Linked DNA regions of Homo sapiens: region 2 is linked to region 1. Evidence: promoter capture Hi-C in human tissues and cell types (Jung and others, 2019). All regions are on one chromosome and are shown on one strand. The core of a region is centred on a gene start or on the middle of the fragment in contact, and the rest is flanking DNA. Distances in the headings are between cores, read along the strand shown. Region 1 holds the start of FZD7 (frizzled class receptor 7). Region 2 holds the start of CYP20A1 (cytochrome P450 family 20 subfamily A member 1).

Evidence for each region. The method cuts DNA at HindIII sites, captures the fragments that hold promoters and counts their contacts. A contact is called where the count stands out against the background at its distance.
Region 2: a contact is called between the fragment with the promoter of CYP20A1 here and the fragment with the promoter of FZD7 in region 1, in 1 of the 25 tissues and cell types used here (stomach).

What each region holds. Positions count from the first base shown.
Region 1 is chr2:202,030,103-202,035,834 of GRCh38, forward strand. It overlaps FZD7 (frizzled class receptor 7), which reads left to right and starts at 3,753. Exons shown (of 1, transcript NM_003507.2): 1 at 3,753-5,732. The coding sequence starts at 4,546. RefSeq lists silencers at 3,335-3,884, 3,995-4,074 and enhancers at 4,637-5,477, 4,675-4,794. The HindIII fragment of the contact is 12,054 bases long and covers 1-5,732 here.
Region 2 is chr2:203,235,676-203,241,376 of GRCh38, forward strand. It overlaps CYP20A1 (cytochrome P450 family 20 subfamily A member 1), which reads left to right and starts at 3,343. Exons shown (of 13, transcript NM_177538.3): 1 at 3,343-3,459. The coding sequence starts at 3,388. RefSeq lists enhancers at 3,044-3,093, 3,379-3,950, 3,774-4,063 and a silencer at 3,164-3,373. The HindIII fragment of the contact is 20,829 bases long and covers 1-5,701 here.

The DNA of each region.
Region 1 (5,732 bases), core at 2,503-5,002:
GATGTCTCTGGCCAACAGCTAGTGACAGCCTGAGGCCTGCCAACAGCCACATGAGTGAGCTTGGAAGTGGCTCCTCCAATTGAGCCTTGAGGCCATCACAGCCCTGATCAACACCCTGATTATACAATAGTCAACGTATAAAACTCTCAACTAGCCCAGTGTGGTGACGCTCACCTGTAGTCCCAGCTTTTCTGGAAGCTGAGGTAGAAGGATCACTTAAGACCAGGAGTTCGAGGCTGCAGTGAGCTATGATCACTCTACCTCACTCCAGCCTGAGTGGCAGGGTGAGATTCTGTCTCAAAAAACAAAAACAGAAACACAAAAACCCCTCTCAATCGACAAGGGAAGTGTTGGTCAGACTCAGTGACTGAATTTACCATATAAATCATCTCTACAAGATGCGGCCTGCACATCTAACATGATTATTGCATGGTCCTCCTCTTCTGCAACTTAGATATCTCTAACTTTCATAACCCTTGAAAGGGTTTTAGGGATAAGAATATCCCCATTTTTGGAATGATCCAACACCCCAACAAAAATGAACACAAGTCAATGACAACCTGACAACTGGAAATTCCAAGTTCTCCATGTTATTACGTCAAAATTGTCTAGTAAAAGAGAGGCCAGAAAGGAAAGCATGTGCTAAAATTTGCCCTTTCTAGTCTTGCATGAGTAATTCTTGCAGCAGGAGCTTCATTACAACCGCAGGACTGGGGCACACGAAGACGGCCATTTTCAAATCTGGCCTGACATCAGAATGTAATTCAACTAGATAAACCTGGGACTTGGCCAAAATAAGTAGCATTTGCAAAACTGGAGCCAATGAATAGCATCACTTTTCTGTGGGACCATATGACTACATGTGAAGAAATAAAGGCCTTTGTTATTTTAAAGGGCAGGGACAATTGGAAATTTTGCAGCAGATAGTCACAAAATTTTCCACCCTTGGCTCTCCCAAGAAGATACCAGTTAGTGGCTTTGGGAGTTGGGTGTGGAAGGGGTTGCTTAGGAAGCAAAATTAAAATGATCCTGGACAGAATATAAACAGATGTCACTACATTTGTCATAGAACCTAAAACATGATTAGACCCTTACATTGTGAACTTACTTTTTCTGATCTTCTATGACTTGGCTCCTTAAAATCATAGCATTCTATACCAGGCAAGGCTTGGAAAGCCAGAGCTCCCCCTCTCACAGCAAATTCTTATTTTGGAGAATAATTTTGGATTGATTTTTTAAAAATCTTTAAAAACAAAACAATCTGTTTTAAAAATTGGCTTTGCTTCTCTGCTTTTTGGACTTGTCTGCCTGGGACAGAGCAAGAGGACTCACATCTGTAACACTTTCCATCTGGGATGGGTTTTCTGCATCTTAGGCATAGACTGCTTTTCATTCGTCCCTTGTATTTAAGGGTTTTTTTTTTCTAAATTATTATCCCTATTGCCTAACATCGGAGCTGTCTGGGGTTATAATATGGAGAGTAGAAGCTCATCAGCTAAATTGGTTTTAGTTGCAGTTGAGACAGTATTTTATCCTGTCAGTTTTCATTTTATTTGATGACAGTGCTTGGTATTTCTTCCTCAATAAGCAAAGATGACTTAGATCAGTGGCCTGATGAATAAGCATGAAATTTTGATTTAGAAAAGGAGGATATCCTGAAGCTCATGGAGAGAAAAAAGGAATCTAACCCCCCACCACACATACTTTAAATGACAAAGCAAAGCAGCAGCATTGTCTTTAAGCAACATATTTCAACCGAAGATCAACACTCCCCGATGTTAGGTAATAGAAATAATAATTTAGAAAGAAAAGGGGGGCCCTTTTAAAAACACAAAGAAGGAATGAAACATTTTTAAAGCAGGTATCGTATTACCTTCAGCACATGTCCCAAAGAAAAGGAAAAAAAGGGTGGGGGGGTCCGGGAGGGAGGGCGAAACTGATGCTTGGGAGGAAGAAGGCGACTCCCGCTGAGGGCCGGATGGAGGATGTGATCAGTCTAACACTCTGCCTTGGCCCAAAGGCTTCCTTCCGCCCTTTCGACCTATTAACAGGAGTGGGGAAGGACAAAGAACCGTGAATCGGAAAGAACGATTCCCAGCAATCTTCAGTGATCGAAAATAAATAAAGAAAAACAGAGAAAGCCAAAGTCTCCCATGGAAGGGAACCCAATTAATTGTCTTCGATTTCAGAATGAGTTTTTTTCCTGCTGTAGAAGAAGCGCACGGGAGGCAGCAGAGACAGCAACTTCTGCCAAGGTTCAACCTGATCAGAAATCGCTCAGAGCTCCAGCACCCGGGACTGAGGCAGAAGGGCTCCGCCAGGAATAACGTTTTTTAAAGCACAGGATTGCTGTGTGTGTGTGTGTGTGTGTGTGTGTGTGAGAGAGAGAGAGAGAGAGACAGAGGAAAGAGGAGGAGGAGGAGAGATTGATTGATTGATTTTTTTCTTTTCCTTCTCAACATGTCACTTTCCTGCATGGGAATTCCTGATATTCCTGGCAGCCCGGAGAGAGGGGAGAGGCCCCCTGGTGACTTATGACCCCCGCAGGAGTAACCAGAGAGCGCGCGCGAGCGCCCAGCGCCTGGCTCAAGACGAAGATTTAACCGAGAACAAAAGAACGTTTGCCAATCAGAAAACGCTACCCGAGAACGAGGATAACCCCGCTTTGTGTTTTGAAAACTCTTTAATTAGCCTGGTTTCTAAGACGCATTAAAACATTCCTACGCAGATTCTAAATGGAGGATCAAATGGTTGCTTCTGCAACGAAGATGGGATCCCGAAAGGGCACACGCCGCAGAACCAAGGCACACGGGGCCACTGAGACGCCCGGCGCGTCGTACAGAGTGTTCCTGGGCGCTCGGTCTCAGGTTACTTCTAGAACCAGTCTCCCCAACGCCGTCTTCGTTTCCTTAAAACCTCGCTAGAGTCACCCCAGTTCCCCAGACTCCAGGCCGTGCGCGCGGGCGGGGTGGCCTGAGCCCGGGTTCCCCGCTCTCCCTGCTTCGGGCCCTTCCTCCGAGGGGTCCTTCCTCCCGCCGTCACTCGGCCCCCTCCGCCCGACTCGGGTTTCTCCTCGGAGGCGGCCCCTCCTCCTTTTTATAACTCGGGGGAGGGGAGAGGGGACTGTGGCCTCGCGTGGACTCTTTGGGTCCGGGGGGAAAGAGGCGATCCGCAAGGCGCACCCCCTTCTCGTCCCGTCCCAAACCCCACATTGAGGACCCGGCGACCCGAAAGCCCCGCCAGAGCCAGCCTTTGCAGTCCTAACGCGACTCCTGGTCACGTCTCTCCCCGAAGGGGCGCTGCGCGGTCCTCGCTCCCCTCAAACGCCGCTGGCGAAGGCGCCCCTGCTCAGGAATGCGCATCTGAGTGCACCAGGAAGAGGAACAAATCTTTGAAGCAAATTCCCTTTCTGCGCGTTTTCGTCCCTGAGCGAATTCAGGGTAAAAGTTTTTCCGAACTTTTCCCTCCCAGTCCCCCGCCCCTCCCCTCAGGAATCCGCCCAGAGCGCCGCGGACACCGCCTCCGCCACTCCCGCGCCCGCCCCTTCCGACTTCCGCCCAATCCGAAGGCGGCCACCGAAAAAACAAAGGCCGCCATTGGGCCGCCGGGGCCTGGGGCCGCCCCCGGAGTGGTTTGTGAATGGGGGGGGAGGGGAGGGGAGGGGAGGGGACGGGAGGGGACGGGAGGGGGCGGGCCGGCCCGGAACCCCGCGAGCCCGACGCTTCTTCTGGCGACCAGCGCGACTCCGAGGCGTTAGTCGGCGCTCACTCCCGGCGGGCGGCGGCGGCGGCGGCGGCGGCGGGCGCCAGGACTCGCTGCTGGGGCTGCGAGGGGCTGGAGGGGCCGGGGCCAGGCCGCGGGCACGAGCGCCTCGCGGTTTCGGACGCAGTGTGACTGGGTTTCCAAAAAGAACTCGCCGTGCTCCCGACTCCGGGGCCGAGATCGGACTCAGCAAGAGCCGGCCGTTTGGCTGAAACTTGGGGCCGAGCTTTTGGGGCTGAAGAAGGAGCGGGGTGTGGAGGAGGAGGCGAAGGAGGCGGCGACGAGCGGAGCCTCGAGGCCAGGAGGCGGGGCAGCACCGCGGAGGCGGCGGCCGGGGCGAGCGAGCGGCGGCGGCAGGGGTTCTCCTAGCGGGGACCGGACCAGGCGCGGGGGGCGTGCGCGCTGCGGTGCGCCGGGGGTCCAGAGTCTTGGGCAAACTTTGAAGGGTGCCGGAGCCGCTTGTTGCTCCTCGCGGCGGAGGGAGCCGCACCGTTACGTCCCCGCGGGGAGAGCGAGGCGGCCCTCCTCGGCGCCCCCAACCCAGGCTGACGAGTTTTGGGCCCCCGGCGGCCCTGCGAGTGCAGGGCGGCGGCGTCTGCGGCGCCTTCGCGGCGCGGGCACCCAGGCGGCAGCGCCCTTTGCTCCACGCCGCCCACGGCCCGGCCCCGGCGCCGTGAGGACTCTCATGCGTCGGGCGCGGCGGCGCCTCCCCGCATCCAAGCCTCTCCCAACCGCCTCGTCGCACTCCTCAGGCTGAGAGCACCGCTGCACTCGCGGCCGGCGATGCGGGACCCCGGCGCGGCCGCTCCGCTTTCGTCCCTGGGCCTCTGTGCCCTGGTGCTGGCGCTGCTGGGCGCACTGTCCGCGGGCGCCGGGGCGCAGCCGTACCACGGAGAGAAGGGCATCTCCGTGCCGGACCACGGCTTCTGCCAGCCCATCTCCATCCCGCTGTGCACGGACATCGCCTACAACCAGACCATCCTGCCCAACCTGCTGGGCCACACGAACCAAGAGGACGCGGGCCTCGAGGTGCACCAGTTCTACCCGCTGGTGAAGGTGCAGTGTTCTCCCGAACTCCGCTTTTTCTTATGCTCCATGTATGCGCCCGTGTGCACCGTGCTCGATCAGGCCATCCCGCCGTGTCGTTCTCTGTGCGAGCGCGCCCGCCAGGGCTGCGAGGCGCTCATGAACAAGTTCGGCTTCCAGTGGCCCGAGCGGCTGCGCTGCGAGAACTTCCCGGTGCACGGTGCGGGCGAGATCTGCGTGGGCCAGAACACGTCGGACGGCTCCGGGGGCCCAGGCGGCGGCCCCACTGCCTACCCTACCGCGCCCTACCTGCCGGACCTGCCCTTCACCGCGCTGCCCCCGGGGGCCTCAGATGGCAGGGGGCGTCCCGCCTTCCCCTTCTCATGCCCCCGTCAGCTCAAGGTGCCCCCGTACCTGGGCTACCGCTTCCTGGGTGAGCGCGATTGTGGCGCCCCGTGCGAACCGGGCCGTGCCAACGGCCTGATGTACTTTAAGGAGGAGGAGAGGCGCTTCGCCCGCCTCTGGGTGGGCGTGTGGTCCGTGCTGTGCTGCGCCTCGACGCTCTTTACCGTTCTCACCTACCTGGTGGACATGCGGCGCTTCAGCTACCCAGAGCGGCCCATCATCTTCCTGTCGGGCTGCTACTTCATGGTGGCCGTGGCGCACGTGGCCGGCTTCCTTCTAGAGGACCGCGCCGTGTGCGTGGAGCGCTTCTCGGACGATGGCTACCGCACGGTGGCGCAGGGCACCAAGAAGGAGGGCTGCACCATCCTCTTCATGGTGCTCTACTTCTTCGGCATGGCCAGCTCCATCTGGTGGGTCATTCTGTCTCTCACTTGGTTCCTGGCGGCCGGCATGAAGTGGGGCCACGAGGCCATCGAGGCCAACTCGCAGTACTTCCACCTGGCCGCGTGGGCCGTGCCCGCCGTCAAGACCATCACTAT
Region 2 (5,701 bases), core at 2,093-4,592, 1.2 Mb after region 1:
GAGACGGAGTCTCGCTCTGTCGCCCAGCCTGGAGTGCAGTGGCACGATCTCAGCTCACTGCAAGCTCCACCTCCCGGGTTCATGCCATTCTCCTGCTTCAGCCTCCTGAGTTGCTGGGACTACAGGCGCCACCACCACGCCCAGCTAATTCTTTTTTGTATTTTTAGTAGAGACAGGGTTTCACCATGTTAGCCAGGATGGTCTCGATCTCCTGACCTCGTGATCTGCCCGCCTCGGCCTCCCAAAGTGCTGAGATTACAGGCATGAGCCACCACGCCTGGCCCCAAAAACTATTTTTTAATTCAACATGAGTACATGTTGAAGAGAAGAAGTATGACAGGTGATGAAGAAAATTACTTTCAAGGATAAAAATAATTTCATTAGAATAAAATTCTGTCGGATAAGTGCAATAAAAATAAGTTCAGAAAAAGGAACCATGGAAAATTTCCAGTTGTTCACAAAAAGTGTATGGGTTTTTTGTTTTGTTTTGTTTTGTTTTGGGTTTTGTTTTTGTCCAGGCTGGAGTGCAGTGGCGCCATTTTGGCTCACTGCAACTTCTGCCTCCCGGGTTCAAGTGATTCTCCTGCCTCAGCCTCCTGAGAAGCTGGGATTACAGGCGCATGCCACCACACCCAGCTAATTTTTGTAATTTTAGTAGAGGCGGGGTTTCCCCATGTTGACCAGGCTGATCTTGAAGTCCTGACCTCAAGTGATCTGACCGCCTCCGCCTCCCAAAGTGCTGGGAATACAGGTGGAGCCACCGTACCTGGCCAAGTTTGTGTGTTTTTAAAAAAAGTCTTATAGTTATCACATCACTATTATATTTACATTCCTTTTCATACACTTAAAAGAGAGCTGTAACAATTTCAAAACGTGAATATTTATAATATGACAGAAATTTAATCCTTTAAAGTCAAGATAAAAATTTTAGATGTCAATACAAAAAATGTGTGAAAAGATATATATGTGTGTATGTGTATATATATATTATATATATATTATTTATATATGCTTTTAGGGAGTATCTGGGCAAAACGTTTTAGGAACACAGGAAGAGGAGGTAGATGTCTAGTTTAGAGACTCACACTATAAAATATGGTGCCCTGACAATTTCTGGAATTTTTGTCTCTTTTTTACAGCCCTCAAAGTTCAGAGAGTCTCAGGATGTAGGTCAATTTAGGACTAAAAGAGAATTCTAGATATCTTGAAGGATTGGTACCTAAGATTACGGTACCTAAGATTACGGTTATATGGCTACCTTATGCAGTTAAAACTCTTATGTTTGGCCGGGCGGGGTGGTTCACGCTTGTAATCTCAGCACTTTGGGAGGCCCAGAGGGGCGAATCACGAGGTCAGGAGTTAAAGACCAGCCTGGCCAACATGGTGAAACCCATCTCTACTAAAAATACAAAAATTAGCTGGGCATGGTGGCGCGTGCCTGTAATCCCAGCTACTCGGGAGGGTGAGGCAGGAGAATTGCTTGAACCTGGGAGGCGGAGGTTGCAGTGAGCCGAGATCCCGTCACTGCACTCTAGCCTGGGCTACAGAGGGAGACTACGTCTCAAAAACAAACAAACAAAACAAACAAACAAAAAACTCTTACATTTACTGTTTTGAAAACCTATTGGGAACATCAGTTTGACAAGAAATATCTTTAAAATTCTGAACAAGAGACTTAAAAATGAACTTTGAACATACGACAGTTTAAAGCACATTTATATGCAGAGAAAGACTTAAAAATACAATTTCTGCCAAGTGAAATATTAAACAGCATGTTTCATTATATTTGCTATAGATGCCAAAAGAGTTGCCATTTTCAATGAGGTATGTTTCCTGCTTATGTAACAGTCATTTATCATAGAAGCTGTAAAATGCAATCTGGAATTTCTCTTGCCAAATTGCTGCCTGTTCTTGACATTTTATATTATTAAAGCTATAAAATCTATAAATACTTTTAGCACACTTTCACTAAAAGCAGCACTAGTAAGTAGCAGGCCTTGTCTTGTATTTCAGTAGCCACGTCAAAACTTCTGAGCCAGGCGAAATAGAAAGAGGGGTCCTAGGGTATTTTATGCCCAGGGCAACAAACGCCAAATGCTGACGTAGATAGCACTTATTCGGTTTTGCCAGGAGCTGTGCTAAGTGATTTTCATAAAATATGTAATTTAACCTACAGGCAACTCCATGTGGTATTATTTTCACTTTTTTACATAGAAGGAAATGGAAGCTTAGAAAACTGAAGCAATTTACCGAAAGTCAGAGTTAACAGAGCAAGGAAACCTGAACAGTGTGCAGCCTCCGCTCACCAGAAAGTGTCAAAGAATCACATTTACTAGTACTTCAGACAGAAATTCTGCGAAACAAGGCGTATCTACTCTTGTTTTACTCCCAGACACTTCCCTGTCCCGCTTAGATCAGTGGTGGTTTTCACTCAAATTTAAGTGTGTAACAGTGTCCCCGGGAGGGCTCTGTTCAAACAGATTGTTGTACGCGCCCCCTACCCCTGCCCACCCCGAGTGTTTGATTCAGTAGGTCTAGTTTGGGATCGAGAATCTTTTTATTTTGTTTTCCTTTTGTTTTGTTTTGTTTTGTTTTTGAGACAGGGTCTCGCCCTGTCGCCCAGGCTGGAGTGCAGTCGTGCCATCTCGGCTCACTGTAGCCTCTGCCTCCCCGGCTAAAGTGATCCTCCAGCCTCAGCCTCCGGAGCAGCTGGGGCCACAGGCAAGCGCCACCACTGTAGGCTAATTTTTTTTTTTTTTTTTTTTTTTTTTTTGTAGAGACTGGGGTCTCACTATGTTGCCCACGCTGGTCTCAAACTCCTGGGCTCAAGCGATCCTCCCGCTTCAGCCTCCCAAGGTGCTGGGATTACAGGTGGAGCCACCGCGCCCGGCATCGATAATCTGAATCTCTAACGAGCTCCCGGGCGACGTTGATGCAGCTGGTACCGGGACCACTCTTCGAAAATCATCGGTTTAGAGGTTTTAATTCTGAATCCATTGCGAAAACTGTTGGGCGGACAGAGCACTACTAACTCCTAACTTTTCTCAGAAAGCTGGGCTCTGCTTTCGCCAGCAACCCGGTCCGAAGTCGCGGGCATATTCTGTCTGAAATCGTGTGCACCGAAATCCCCGCCTTGCGGTGGAGGCTGGCGCTAGGCGGCCTCAGCCTCGGCCTGCTGCGCTCAGGAACCCGCGCCCCGGCTCCTCGGCGATCCATTGCTCTTTCCTCTGGCGCCGGCCGCAGGCCTCGGTCACGCCCCCAGCGGCCCGTTGGTTTCCGGGTCCCGCGGGGTGCCCCCGCCCACACGCTATGCCTTAAATTGGGCCAGGCTGAGGCGCTGCTGCTGGAGCGGCCGATCCGAGACGTGGCTCCCTGGGCGGCAGAACCATGTTGGACTTCGCGATCTTCGCCGTTACCTTCTTGCTGGCGTTGGTGGGAGCCGTGCTCTACCTCTATCCGGTGAGCGCCGTCTTGGCTCTCTGGGGCCCCGGGCGCCGCCCCAGTCTCTCTGTCGCCGGCATCCAGGCCAACCTGCCCGCTGCGGGCCGCAGGGGGCGGGCCTGAGAGGAGGGTTCGGGTTCGCTCCAGAGCTTCAGCGCGGGGACCGCACCCGGAGTCACGTGACGCCCCTCCCGGCAAGCTCTGAGAGCGACGTGGGCTGCGTCGCTACCCCTCAGGCGCCGGGCCAGGCGGGCGTAGAGCTGCTGAGGAAAAGCCCGCGCCCCCGCAGGCCGGTCTCACCTTGCCAGGCACCCCGCGCCACTCTCCAAGGCGGCTCTCAAGTACTTTGGGCAGCTTTTTGGCCATAACTCGCCAAACCCAAATTTCATTTCCCAGTGTGTCAGGACGAGACTCCTGGGCGCGCCACTCCTTTCTCCTTTCTTGAGGATTCTCCCAGCACTTGTGTATTCCTCTTTTCCATCTGTCCATCGATCTATCCTGACTGGAATCCAAAGTGCTCGAGGTCCAGGTCTTGCTCCTCTTAGGGGCTCCAGGCAAATGCTTCTTTGGGGAGAGCGCCGCGCTGCGGGTTCGGGTGCGAGGTTTCCTCTGCCGCTGACGCCTCTGCGAGCCTCCGGTCCTCCTCTCTCCACTTGCCTCCGTCAGCGAGAGAGGGAGGGTCTGAAAACAAAAGTGTTGATGACTGAGGACCGTCTTTAAAACCTGTTCTACACACTTTGGGAGGCTGAGGCGGGCGGATCACGAGGTCAGGATATCGAGACCATCCTGGCCAACATGGTGACACACCGTCTCTACTAAAAATACAAACATTAGCTGGCTGTGGTGGCGGGCGCCTGTAATCCCAGCTACTCAGGAGGCTGAGGCAGGAGAATCGCTTGAACCTGGGAGGCGGAGCTTGCAGTGAGCCAAGATCGCACCACTGCACTGCAGCCTGGCGACAGAGCCAGACTCTTATCTCAAAACAAACAAACAAACAAACAAAAAACACCTGTTCTACAAAGCAAGGTGGTGGTTTTACAGTGAAAGTTGAAAAGTAGCTGAACTGCTGGAATTGACCATACACCTTCTTAAATGTTCTTTTCCGAGCAGGTAAATGGATTAGACTAGAATCTTGCAACTACACAATCAGGGACTTCCTGAAATCTTATTTTCTGAGAAACTAAACAATTTTAGTGGTTCTTGAATTTTTGGTGATTTTAAAATGATACTCTTCTTTGATCAGCTCATAGAAGCACACTGTTTATTCTTAGCACTAGCTATGTGCCAGATATGGTTCCACGTGCTGGGAATCCAGCCGTGAAACAAACCGGACAGAAAATTCCTGACTCTTGGAATTTATTTCCTAGAGAAGGGGAACAGACAATAGAAACAAATAACATAGGATTGTGGGTAGAAATAAAGTTGGGGATAGGTAGATTGTTATTTTAAAGTAGGATGGCCAGGAGATACGGAGACATTTGAGTAGAAACGCGAAGAAGGTGAAGGTGCAAGCCATTCTGAGAAAGAGCATTCTGGGTCGAGGGAGCAGCAAATGCAAACCTTCAGAGGGAGACACGCCTGGTGTGTTCCTGGAAAGCAAGGGGACCAGTGTGGTTAGAGTGTAGTAAATGAGGAAGATACCAGAGGAGAGAAAGTCAGAAAGATGGGAGTGAAGGACAAATTTTAAATGACTTGTAAGGCTTTTTTAATGGACTTTTGCTGTGTGCCACTGGAGGATTTCAGCAGATGAATGCCATTTGAAATTGGATAGAATTCAAATTTAATTTTATTAGATAAATTTTAAAAGAATCATTGTGGTTGCTAAGTCATGAATTGACATGGGTCTCCAGGTAAGGATGGAAGCAAGCCAAGTAATTAGGAGGATATTATCATTTCAGCTTGGATCATGGTAGTAGTGGCACAGATAATGAGAACTAGTCAATTGTGAAGATAGTGCCAATGGGATTTCCCAGTGGATTGGATGTGAAATGTGAAAGAGAGGCATCAAGGAAAACACCAGTTATTTTTAGCCTGGTATCTGGAAGGATAGATTAATTCCAGGGAAGATCAGGGGTTTTGCTGGTGGTGGTTGTTCTTTAGTTTTGTTTTGGTGGGAGGTAGTGGGGATTTATAGAGATTAGGAGTTGGTTTTGGGTGGGCTAGGTTTGAGATGCCTGTTAGACATTCAAGTGGAGATGTTGAGGAGTAACTGAATATATGTCTTGAGTTTATGGGAAAAGTCCAGGCTGAAGATACACAT